Regions from separate parts of the Homo sapiens genome. Here all the other regions are linked to region 2. Evidence: promoter capture Hi-C in human tissues and cell types (Jung and others, 2019). All regions are on one chromosome and are shown on one strand. The core of a region is centred on a gene start or on the middle of the fragment in contact, and the rest is flanking DNA. Distances in the headings are between cores, read along the strand shown. Region 1 has its middle 580 kb from the start of CCDC85A. Region 2 holds the start of CCDC85A (coiled-coil domain containing 85A). Region 3 has its middle 630 kb from the start of CCDC85A. Region 4 has its middle 860 kb from the start of CCDC85A.

What was found. Contacts are between HindIII fragments. The study calls those that stand out against the background at their distance.
Region 1: a contact is called between a fragment that was not itself captured here and the fragment with the promoter of CCDC85A in region 2, in 2 of the 25 tissues and cell types used here (dorsolateral prefrontal cortex and lymphoblastoid cells).
Region 3: a contact is called between a fragment that was not itself captured here and the fragment with the promoter of CCDC85A in region 2, in 2 of the 25 tissues and cell types used here (H1 embryonic stem cells and mesenchymal stem cells).
Region 4: a contact is called between a fragment that was not itself captured here and the fragment with the promoter of CCDC85A in region 2, in 1 of the 25 tissues and cell types used here (lymphoblastoid cells).

The regions. Positions count from the first base shown.
Region 1 is chr2:56,760,587-56,763,576 of GRCh38, forward strand. No RefSeq gene overlaps it. Among named protein-coding and RNA genes, the nearest start is that of CCDC85A, 580 kb to the left of the region's middle. The HindIII fragment of the contact is 6,668 bases long and covers 1-2,990 here.
Region 2 is chr2:56,182,435-56,185,404 of GRCh38, forward strand. CCDC85A (coiled-coil domain containing 85A) reads left to right here and starts at 1,556. Exons shown (of 6, transcript NM_001080433.2): 1 at 1,556-2,466. The coding sequence starts at 2,191. All of the region lies in intron 1 of LOC100129434 (a long non-coding RNA gene), which reads right to left. RefSeq lists a silencer at 1,226-1,555. The HindIII fragment of the contact is 12,191 bases long and covers 1-2,970 here.
Region 3 is chr2:56,811,143-56,814,234 of GRCh38, forward strand. No RefSeq gene overlaps it. Among named protein-coding and RNA genes, the nearest start is that of CCDC85A, 630 kb to the left of the region's middle. The HindIII fragment of the contact is 4,228 bases long and covers 1-3,092 here.
Region 4 is chr2:57,040,952-57,044,312 of GRCh38, forward strand. No RefSeq gene overlaps it. Among named protein-coding and RNA genes, the nearest start is that of CCDC85A, 860 kb to the left of the region's middle. The HindIII fragment of the contact is 9,220 bases long and covers 1-3,361 here.

The DNA of each region.
Region 1 (2,990 bases), core at 255-2,754, 580 kb after region 2:
ATGGGAGTGAACAGGCAACCTACAGAATGGAAGAAAATTTCTGCAATCTATCCATCTGACAAAGGGCTAATATCCAGAATCTACAAAGAACTTAAACAAATTTACAAGAAAAAAACCAACAACCCCATCAAAAAGTGGGCGAAGAATATGAACAGGCACTTCTCAAAAGAAGACATGTATGCTGCCAACAAACATATGAAAAAAAGCTCATCATCACTGGTCAATAGAGAAATGCAAATCAAAACCACAATGAGATACCATCTCATGCCATTTAGAATGGCGATTACTAAAAAGTCAGGAAACAACAGATGCTGGAGACGATGTGGAGAAATAGGAAAGCTTTTACACTGTTGGTGGGAGTGTAAATTAGTTCAACCATTGTGGAAGACAGTGTGGCTATTCCTCAAGGATTTAGAACCAGAAATACCATTAGACTTAGCAATCCCATTACTGGGTATATACCCAAAGGATTATAAATCATTCTACTATAAAGACACATGCACACGTATTTTTATTACAGCAATATTCACAATAGCAAAGACTTGGAAACAACCGAAATGCCCATCAATGATAGACTGGATAAAGAAAATGTGGCACATATACACCATGGAATACTATGAAGCCATAAATTAGCAAGAGTTCATGTCCTTTGCAGGCACATGGATGAAGCTGGAAACCATCATTCTCAGCAAACTAACACAAGAACAGAAAACCAAATACTGCATGTTCTCACTCATAAGTGGGAGTTGAACAATGAGAACACATGGACACAGGGAGGGGAACATCACAAACTGGGGTCTGTCAGGGGGTCGGGGGCTGGGGGTGGATTAGCATTAGGAGGAATACCTAATGTAGATGACGGGCTGATGGGTGCAGCAAACCACTATGGCACGTGTATACCTATGCTACAAACGTGCAGGTTATGCACATGCATCCCAGAATTTAAAGTATAATAAAAAAAGTATGTTAAAAAAGTAAAACAGTGTATCTTTACAAGTCATAAAGCAGTCAGATCTAGAAAGAAGAAGTACCATTTCTCAAGACAAGAACCAGATAACTATTATCTCAAAACCTACAAGGGCTTTTTTCCAATCTCCAGTTTATAGATTTTTTTTTAACACAAAAGCACTTTAGTTTCCAGATTAGAAGAAGCCAAAATCTCCCCCAGAAAGATAACTCACTTCTTATTAGTGGTTTAATTTTTTAAAAGGCTAAGTTTCATTCCTGTGCATTTGATTGCAGAGCAATTGAGTGGTAGGGGGATATTTTGCAAGGGAGAAAAATTGTGTGAGAAAACAGCAAATTCCTTACCTGGAGTTTTTACTTTAGCATTTAAATTTACACCTTCAGTCATCATAAAGATTATCATAGTGGTGAATTTCAAAATTTCTTGTTGTGTTTTGATTTATTAAGACAGCAAGATGAGCAAAATGAAGTTGTAAAAATTTGTAGAAATGTTTACCAGTTTGGATTTGGCTAGGATTTTCTCTTGTTTAACTTTTTTAGGGAAAGATTTATGAATCTTGAGTAATCAGCTTAAAATGCTGTATACGTATCCATGGGTTAGACATGAAACTCTCACCTTTATAGCAACTTTAAGTGAATATTTAGGCCTGAAATACTTCGATTTGAACTAAAAAATAGTATGGAGAATCCTTCCTTGAATCTTTGGAAGTTGATTGTTGTTGTATTTATGTAAATATAACACGAAGACTTTGGGCTTGTACAGACAGCAGCCCTGGAAGAATATATTTAATTTAGAATTATTGCACCAACAAATGAGTTACTTGATGAATGAAACTATACTATGGTATAAATAACACATGATTTACTAAATAGTCAACTTCTGTGTATGTTGATAGAAAGATTAGAATAATACTTAGTAGCAAACATAGTTGTTTCGGTAATATTTCCAATTTCTCTTTACTAAGAAATTGGTGAAATTCACCCGTGTCAAGTCCCGGGAAGTGCTTCTGTCATGGTCTTCTTTGTATGGTCTTTTGTTGTCCTGACGTGACATCTAAATCAAATTTTCTAGCTTCCACCTTGATAGAAGCTAGGTTTAGAGAGCCATTGCAAGTTTTATTTCAGTCTATTTCTGCAATTTCTTAGTTTCTCAACTATATTCCTATGGGATTACTTCATATTTTGTCTAATTTTGTTTTACAGGTGTGAGGGATGCCAGATGTTATGGGATTTTCTCTCCTCTAGTATATGTTTGGGAAAAGGTGATGGCTGCCCTAGAGTGAAATGATTTGTCTGTGCTATTCAGGCAGACATTTCAGGTTACAAGTCCTGCTCTGACTCTTTTTGGGGAAAGAAATGCCCTCTAGGTTGAGGTCATGGAACACAATGGGCTGCCATATTTAATAAGACATTAAATCTATGTTCCCTTCATGCTTTACTATTAAATTATCAGTGTTTTATTATTTACCTAGTTTACTCCAATGTGTGTGTAAGACGACATCTACAAAATTAGTATACTTTTTAAAGGAAAGAGCCAAATTATGTAAATATTTGTAAGTAGTAAGAGGCAGCTTGAAAATGAGATCTGAAACCTTTAGTATCTACAACAGGACTCATTCTTTCTTTATTCTCAGTTCTTGTCCCAACACATCGATACCCATTCTTTCTGTCCATATGGTGTTTTTTTTGTTTGTTTGTTTGTTTGTTTTTTTGTTTTTTTTTTCTACCCTAACTGTTCTCTATTTCCCAGAATAAGTAGATAACATATAGCTCTTTGGCCGCAGACCAAAACATTAACAACTTTGAAACTTTCATCTTTTACATCCTATTTGGAAATCTTACCTTAGAAGATTTTCTTGAAAATAGCCCCTTAAAGGAGTTATACTAATGGGGGCTAGGCTTTAAAAGGTTTCTTGGAATTATTAACCTTAAATATTAAAATGTATTATATTAATTTAAATGATATATTTTCAAAGAGAGAGGCCATGTCGACTCCATAGAAAGTCAAATGTAAATAATAAGTT
Region 2 (2,970 bases), core at 306-2,805:
AGACTAGTGGAGGAGATTAGGATGGGAAGTTGGTCAGTGTAATGAGGCCATTTGTGTTTCCTAATTGGAACTTATTAAAGTTAGGCTCCTCCTCTCCACAAACACTAGGAGATAGGGACCCTTTTTTCCTTGATGATTACATTTCAAAGGGATGCCTCACAGATCCCTGAGAAAGATCCCCAGGCTGTAAAACCCAGCAAGAGGCGGAGAGATTTACATGTCAAAGGGTCAGAGGAAACATTCACCAATGGAAGTTGGCTAAAGTAAATGCTCTGAGAAAAGGAAGGTCTGGGGCCTACAGTTAGGAAGAAACCTGTCTAAAGTTTAGTTAAGCTGAGGGGAATGTTAAGGCCATTTGGTCACCGTAAGCAGTACCACATTTCCTTGCCTCTCCCGGGAGCCAGGTCTCAGTGTCCCCAATAGGGGACACGCACTGACCGGCGGGTGAAGGGACTGATTTTGATTATCATCCTACCAGATAGAGATTATTCCCTCTGCACCCGGGTTAACTGAAACCCGGTGGGGGTAGATCCTTGCCATTTTCCGGCCCTGTACCCCACTGGAAATAACATGCGGTGGTCAAGGGCATCCACCTCTTTAGGCAAAAGCATGTTTTCAGCCCAGAGACGATTCCACCCAACTTTACAAGAGGATAGCCCAAAGATAGAAGCCAGGGACTCAGACTTCCTCCTTCCAGAAATAACCATCATAAAAAAGCCGACCCAGTAAACGCCTGGCAGCCTGCGGCATAGAAGAAAATGGAAATCTCCTTGGCTGGCATTTCAGCTTGCCTGAGGGGGCTTGCTTTGCTCCGAGGGGAGGTGACTGTGCTGACCTTAAAATCCAGGTTTCAGGAAGCAGGAGATGAAGGTATTTTATTTTCGCCTAAAGGCTTTGATATTTTTCAAATAAAAATTTAAAAGATCCAGTACCTTCTCCCGAAGCTTCTTCATAGAGTAGTGGATTTTTAGAAAACACAAAGGCCTAGGGGTGGGGCGAGAGTGGGGGGTGGGGATGGGTAGCCCCATAAGAGCAGTGCCCTGACGCCTCTTTTCGCCCTTTTCAGACCATTTGGATTTTCTTAAGCTGCCCCTTTCCCCAACCCCCGTTTTTGCCATTTGCCTCTCCTCCCATTCTCCAAAGTGCAAATAACTGGTTATCCCTCAGGTCCTGCTACCCCATCTTTCCTGATCCCCGATCCCTCCAAATACGAAGCACCTCGCATTTGGGTCAGCAGCTGTTTCCCCTGCCTGGTGACAAGGCCGGTGTGCAGAGGGCAGAGGAGGGAGCTTCTTCCGCCACACGGTGGCGCGCGCGAGCCTCCCAAAGACCGGGCGGCCACAGCTCCTCACCTTCTCCCCATTCCAGCCCCACCCGCCCGGGCGCAGAAAGAGCCGCGCCCCCAGCCCTCCCGGGCAGGACAGCCGGGAGCGCACCTCGAGGGCCCGGGCAGCGGTCGAGTGGCAGCTGCGTCCAGCCCATGCGGGAGCTGCTGCGGGTTACGGGTGGCCCCAGCTCCAGGCTCCTCCTCCAGCCGGTCCCCCACCCTCCACCCCTTCTCGACTCCGCTCTGCAAATCGAAGGCTTTCCGGAGCAGCCTAGGAGCGGCCGCGGGCGCAGCGAAGGCGGCAGGAGGAGCGCAGCAGCCTTCGGGCAGCCGCGGCGGCGTCGCTAGAGCAGCCGGGGAGGCGCCGCGGTGCCCGGCGCGCCCTCCAAGCTAGGAGAGGGGAGAAGCCGGGGGCTGCAGCTGGGCAAGGGGGAGGAAAGTGCGTGTGCGTGCACGCCTGTGTGCAGGGCAGAGAGTGCGGGGGGCGACAGTCTCGGCTTAGGGCGGAGGAGAGGGCAGGGGAACGGCGGTGCAGCTCCCCCGCTGTCCCCGAGGATTTCCCGCGGCAGCCCCGGGCTCCCCAGTGCCCCTCACCATGGACTTGCGCGGAGTTGGGACGGGCCTCGGCAGCAGCAAGCGGCTGGCTGCCGGGCCCTGGGGGAGCGCGGGCGCGCGCGCGGGGATGGCGAGGTAGGATGGCCACCCAGCGCGACCCCCGCCGCCCCAACCCAGCGGCCCCTGGGCGGTGCCGCTGACTCGCCGGAGCGCACAGGGGTGTGGGCGGAGGCGGCCTCGCCGCGCCCGCGCCTTCGGGAGTCGCCTCGCCTCTTCCACCCACTTGCACCTGCCACCCCGCGGATACCATGTCGAAGGCGGCCGGAGGCGCGGCGGCGGCTGCGGCGGCGGCGGAAAGTTGTTCCCCAGCCCCGGCCGGCTCGTCCGCGGCCCCGCCCGCGCCGGTGGAGGACCTGTCCAAAGTGTCGGACGAGGAGCTGCTGCAGTGGAGCAAGGAGGAGCTGATCCGCAGCCTGCGGCGCGCCGAGGCGGAGAAGGTGAGCGCGATGCTGGACCACAGCAACCTCATCCGCGAGGTGAACCGCCGCCTGCAGCTGCACCTCGGCGAGATCCGCGGCCTCAAGGTGAGCGCGGGCCAGGTGGGGAGGCGCGGCGCGGCTGGGAGCGGGGTGCCCCGAGGAGGAGGCGGGGCCAGGCAAACTTTCCCTCCCTCCCTCAACAGGTGACCCTCCCCTTCTCCCGGTCGGCACCCCCTACCCCCAGTCCCCAGCCCCTGTGTAACTTTTCCAAACTTCGGAGGCGTCTGCTCCCCTCCTCTCCCCAACACGGGGCGCTCCACTGTCTGGCTGTTCGGGGAGGCGCTGAGGACGCTGGAAAGCAGGGAGGGAGGTGAAGGGCACGCGAACCTTTCATTTCTTAGGGAGGCTGGAAAATCTGTGCCTGGGGAGCCGGGTTTCAGTCAGTTAGGCGGAAAGGCCAGTGAGGGGGTGAATCCAGGGGATCTTCGCCTTGGAGGGTCGGGAATGCGGCTGCTCTGGGCCAGCAGCTCTTGGGCGGGCAGAGGGCGAGGAAAGGGCGCCACTGCCAGGGAGAGCGGCTGGCGGGGCGCCCGGGAGAAGCAGCGGGCG
Region 3 (3,092 bases), core at 53-2,552, 630 kb after region 2:
AGAATGTCACGTAAGATGAAAACTCCTTGCCATTCCTTCCTATTTCAGATTGATGATTGATATGGTTTGGCTCTGTTTCCCCACCCAAATCTCGTAGTTCCCCAAATTCCCACACGTTGTGGGAGGGAACTGGTGGGAGATGATTGAATTATGGGGGCAGGTCTTTCCCGTGCTGCTCTTATGACAGTGAATGGATCTCACAAGATCTGATGGTTTTAAAAATGGGAGTTGCCGTGCACAAGCTCTCTTTGCCTGCCACCATCCATGTAAGACGTGACTTGGTCCTCCTTCCCTTTTGCCATGATTGTGAGGCCTCCCCAGCCACATGGAACTGTGAGTCCAATTAAACCTCTTTCTTTTGTAAATTGCCTAGTCTCGGGTATGTCTTTATCAGCAGCATGAACACAATGACATAGATTTGGCTATTTGCCTAGCTCTTTATTTCACTTTTGTTATCTCTTGGACTGACTCTGTTTTATATGCTGCAACTCAGTCTTGTTTCCCTTCCAGACTCCTGATATAGTCTTCTTCAAGTGGATCTTGGTGACCATGTAACTCTCTCTCAATTACTTGGACTTGTAATGAGAGACCTGGTAATCCCACAAATGTCTCCCAGAACAAATAGATTTGATGGTAAAAAAAAAAAAAAAAAAATCATTGTCATGATCTCATTCTGTGAATGAAACTACTGATAAAATGAAAGAGAAAAGGTACTAGTTCATAAATTTTGAATTAAATGAATGTAAGAGTGAACATCAAAGCTAATCAAGAGACAAAAAGATTGAGGCCAGAGTACAGAATAAGATAATGAAGGCCATTACTAATGTGCCTTCTTTTCTTCCTTTTATTACTAAGTAATTATTTTACAGTATAATTAATCTCTTACCAAAAATAATCTCCCATTAGACATTTAAACTTTTCCCCAAGTAGTTCTAGTCTCTCTCCATCTCACTGGAAGAAATAGTAACAGAGTGAATGTAAAGGGAAAGGTTATAAAAGGATTTCAATTTCCTTTATTAAATGACTCTAATTATTTTCACTAAGCTTCCCTTAAATGAACATACTCAGACATTCTCTCCAAATCTTCTCACTACTCAAGTAGCTCTTCAAATGTCAATCTTGCCTAAATATTACTTTGCAATTTTTTCTTGTTTTCAGAGATATAAATACAAAGAAAAGGAAGTCTTCCATTGAATCTTTCAACATTTTTTATTATAATTAAAAAAAATTCGTCTCATTGCTGTTCATGTCTTAGCTGTTTGGAATAAAAGGTCAAAGAAAAAAACACTTTTTTTGTGATCTGTCAGAAGTTCATATTTTTTATTTTCTTGCTGGCAGATTCTTTCAGTTTCAGTAAGGATAATTTTGAGGGCTTATATGTAATTATTCATTGAAACATATTTTTCAAAATTAGTCTCAGAATCAGATGAAACTGATTAGATCTTAGAGTTCAGACATGAAAATTTGCCTCAAGGAAACACTAAAAAATGTATGTCACTTCCAAATAGTATGACTAATAGTTACATAAACAGACATATTATTTACCAAGGAGAAAGTTAGTCTAAAATATTTTTCACGAAATGATTTTGGAATTAGTATGTGTAGGTTATGACAGACTTGAGACTTTCCTGTTTCATTCTATCATTTTGTTCATAATCTATTAACAAAGAATAATTTGATTTAGATCAATCTCAGAACACTAAAAGTATCAGATGATGACTATTCCTTAATCACCTGATTAAATTGTTAAGGAAACCTGCTGTCTCTTTACTCACAAAAGAAACACATCATTCTTATTAAGAAGCAAGGGAAGACAGAAGATTCAGAAACAAATTACATTTTCTTGTGGTAATAACAATTTTTGGGGGGGTTGAAATTGCATTGTATAAATTTACCTCTTGTATTTTCACACTGATGAACAGTTACCCATTCCTTAGTTACCCGTAGAGATCTACTTGAGCTTATACACAAGAACCTTTGTTCTTTGAATTACTTATATTTTTATGTGGAAAGGCAGGTAGTTGTGAAAGAAGTAAAAAAAAATGTGATGGTTTTTCCTAACCTAATCTTATGCCCTTTTTATGTTTCCTCTGCCTGTTAGGATTATAATAAAGTTAAAATGTAACAAGTTAAGCAACCAAGGTGTTTTTTGGTAGATGAATGGGTAAACTGTGATACGTTCAGGCAAAAGAATATTATTCATTATTAAAGATTAATAAGCTTTCAAGCCATGAAAAGACATGGAGAAAACTTTAATGCATATTACTAAGTAAAAGAAACCATTCTGAAAAGGCTAAATACTGTGGTATTTCATATGTAACATTCTGAAAAAAGCAAAACTATAGAGACAGTAAAAAGACCGGTAGTTGCCAGAGTATGGGGGAAGAAGGGATGAATAGGCAGAGCACAGGGACTTTTAGGACAGTGAAATTATTCTGCATGATACTATAATGGTGGATACCTGTCATTATACTTTTGGCAAAACACATAGGAAGTACAACACCAAGACTGAAACTTGATGTAAACTATGGACTTTGGTTGATAATTATGTGTCAACGTAGGTCCACTGATTATAACAAATGTACTATTCTGGTGAGGGAATGTTGATAGTGGGGGAAACTGGGCATGTGTGTAGTCAGAGCATATATAAAAATCTCTAAGTAGTTACTGTTCAACTTTGCTAAGAACCTAAAAATTACTCTAAAAAATGAAATCTCCAAAAGGAAAAAAAATTCAACCAGTTTGTATTGTTATACCTAAGAAGAGTAGTCATATTTACGGTGATGATTTTTTAAGGGACAATTATCTGAACCTGTGGCTTATCAAAGATTTATTTTCTCATTTATGATCTCATTTATGGACAAAGAACAAACATTCTTACGTTATTCCTTAATAAGTTATTTGTAAATCAGTATTTTATAAAATAATTATATGTAAAAATCACTTGACACAAAATTCATATTACTTTATAATTCATATACTATCAATATTAGTATATTATCTTACTATTATCTGAAGAATTCAACTTACCCAGAATTATTTATGCTTATTTTCTTTTAACTTACATTTGCATTTCAGTTGGGTTAGCTAGA
Region 4 (3,361 bases), core at 61-2,560, 860 kb after region 2:
AAATGATCAGAGTACTGCTTGTCATGAATGAGAGAGGTCCTTTTGTGGATATCCAAATGTTGTGTGAAGGCTGGTTATGGATTCATATGAAGAGGATCTGTGGAACATATCTTCTATAGTATGGTACTACTGAACAGCTACTCTGATTTGATATCTCCTTTGGCTAAGTTATAGAGAAGAGTTTCCAGGGCTGGGGATGGTAGTCTCCTCTCTCCCGTTTGTCACTGGCTGTTCTTTAGAACATTTCTGTCTTGAGGCTCTTCTGATGCTTCCTGTCGGTTGAGGGAGGAACTGGTTTCTTGCCAGGAAATCCCAGATGATGGGAAGTCTGGTTGTCCACATCACTATTGCTGTTTTCAGTATAGACACCATGAGTCAGAGATAAATTTTCTGCACACTTAATGCTGGGCAGATTGAGGGGTGGGACATTGTGGGTATGGAAGTCCCATTCATTACCATCTGCTTGGAGTTCTTTGAGTTCTGAGATATTGCTGATAATCTCAGCACTGTATATTTGTGTCTGATTTTCTGTGCAGGGAGGAGTAAAGCCAACTGCCTTATATGTCATCATTTTGGGAACAAAATGGCCTATAATTTTTTTTGATGTGTTATTGAATTCAACTTGTTAGTATTTAATTATTTTTGAAAGCATATACATATATTGGCCTTGTAGTTTTTTTTTTTTTTCTTGTGATGTCTTTGTCTGATTTTGATGTAAGGGTGATGCTCACCTCATATAATAAAGTTTGGAAATATTCCCTCTACTTCTATTTTTTGGAACATTTTAAGATAGATGGGTATTAATTTTTATTTCGTTGTTTGATATAATTCAGTCATGAACTTATATGACCCTGAGCTTTCCTTGTTGGAAGGTTTTTGATTCCCACTTCAATCTCTTTATTTGTTATTTATCTTTCAGGCTTTCTATTTCTTCTTGATTTAGTCTTCAGAATGTATGTTTCTAGAATGTTAACCCTATCTTTCAGGTTATTGAAGTTTTTGGCATACTATTGTTCATAATAGTCCTCTTTGACATTCCTCATGGAACTAGAAGAAACTATTTTAATATTCATATGGAACCAACAAAGAGCCCGAATAGTCCAGGCAGTCCTAAGTAAAAAGAACAAGGCAGAAAGCATCATGCTGCCCAACTTCAAATTGCACTACAGGGCTATAGTAATCAGAACAGCGTGGTACTGGTACAGAAACAGACACATAGACAAATGGAACCGAAAAGGCAGCCTGGAAATAAGGCTGCATACCTACAACCATCTGATCTTTGACAAAGCTGACACAAACAAGCAGTGGGGACAGGACTCCCTATTCACTAAATGGTGCAGTGATAACTGACTAGCCATATACAGAAAGCAGAAACTGGACCCCTTCCTTTCACCATATATAAAAATCAACTCGTGATGGATTAAATACTTAAATGTAAAACCAAAACTATATTAAAAAAAAACTCTGGAAGACATCCTAGGCAATACCTTTTTGGACATAGGCCCTGGCAAAGATTTCATGACTAAGACACCGAAAACAATTGCAACAAAAGCAAAAATTGACAAATATAAACTAATTAAACTAAATAGTTTCTACATATCAAAATAAACTATCAAAAGAGTAAACATCCTATAGAAATGGGAGAAAATATTTGCAAACTATGAATCTGACAAAGGTGTAATATCTAGCATTTATAAGTAACTTAAACAATTTTACAAGAAAAAACTAAACAACCCCATTGAGAAGTGGACACAGACATAAACAGAAAATTGTCAAAAGAAGACACAGATGCAGCCAACAAGCATATGAAAAAAGTTCAGTATCACTGATCATTAGTGAAACGGAAATCAAAACCACAATGAAATATCATTTCACACCAGTCAGAATGGTTATTATGAAAAAATAAAAAAAATAACAGATGCTGGTGAGGTTGCAGATAAAAGAGTGTGTATACACTGTTGGCAGGAATGTAAATTAGTTCAACTGTTGTGAAAAGCTGTGTGGTGATTCCTCAAACAGCTAAAATCAGAACTACCATCCCACTCAGCAATCCCATTCTTGGGTATATACCCAGCAGAATATAAATCATTCTGTTATAAAGACAGAAGCATGCATATATTCATAGCAGCACTGTTCACAATAGCAAAGACATGTAATCACTCTAAATGCCCATCAATAGAAGGCTTGTAAAGAAAATGTGGTACATATACACCATGGAATACTATGAAGCTATAGAAAAGAACAAGATCATGTTCTTTGCAGGAACGTGGATGGAGCTAGAAGCCATTATTTTTAGCAAACTCATACAAGAACAGACAACCAAAATACTGATGTTCTCACTCATACGTGGGAGCTAAGTGGTCGGAACACATGGATACAAAGAGGAGAACGGACACCATGGCCTACCAGAAGGTTGAGGGTGGGAGCATAGAGAAGAGCAGAAAAACTAATTATTGGGTACTAGGCTTAGGAACCTGCTGATGAAGCAATCTGTACATCAAACCTCCATGACAATAGTTTACCTAGCTAACAACCTGCACATGTACCCCTGAACCCAACATGGAAGTTAAAAAAAAATCATGTTGTATGTCTTAAGTATATACAAGAAAAATAGCTTAATAACAAAATGAAATAACAACAAAAACAGCATTTAGCTTAGGTCTTGGTATTTCATGAAATATCATGATATTTCATGATATTTTTATTTATTCATAAATAAAAGTATTTCATGATTTTTTTACATATAAAATATTTTGTTTCTCATTTTTATTAGCAGTTTCAATGTACTTTTTCTTAACTGAGTTTGAGATAGTTTGTGAAGAAGCAAAATTCACTTATTAAGTAGATGGCGAAAGCACCACAGTCCCAGAGGAAAACACTTTCTTCCTGAAATCTTACTTCTAACAGAGTAGCATTGTTATAAGGCATGTCTTTGAGAGGTACATTGGAAAGTGCCTCTGTGGAAAAGTACTTTTTTTTCAGTGTCAACAAAAGTTTGACTGATTTTTCTCTGTTGGGCAGGTGGACTATCTTTGCATAGTATGTTAACTCCAGAGCTGTTTTCTTGTGATAAGTGTATACTTTCTAAAAACTGAAGCCAAAGTTGATGAAAACGATGAGAAATAAAATATCATTCCAGTGTCAATATCTAAAGGCACATCCTTCATCAGAATTATATTTTAAATATCCATGAAGAAAAATATAGAGACTTACATATGTATGGATAAGAAGTTCTGATTCATCCAGTATTGATTGGATGCTCATATAGCAAGTAAAACAGCTTATTGGCAAATATAACAAGTGGTTTTCTTTTTAATCTCTAACATGCTGTTCTTAGCAGAATTAACTGTCGTCCTATCAG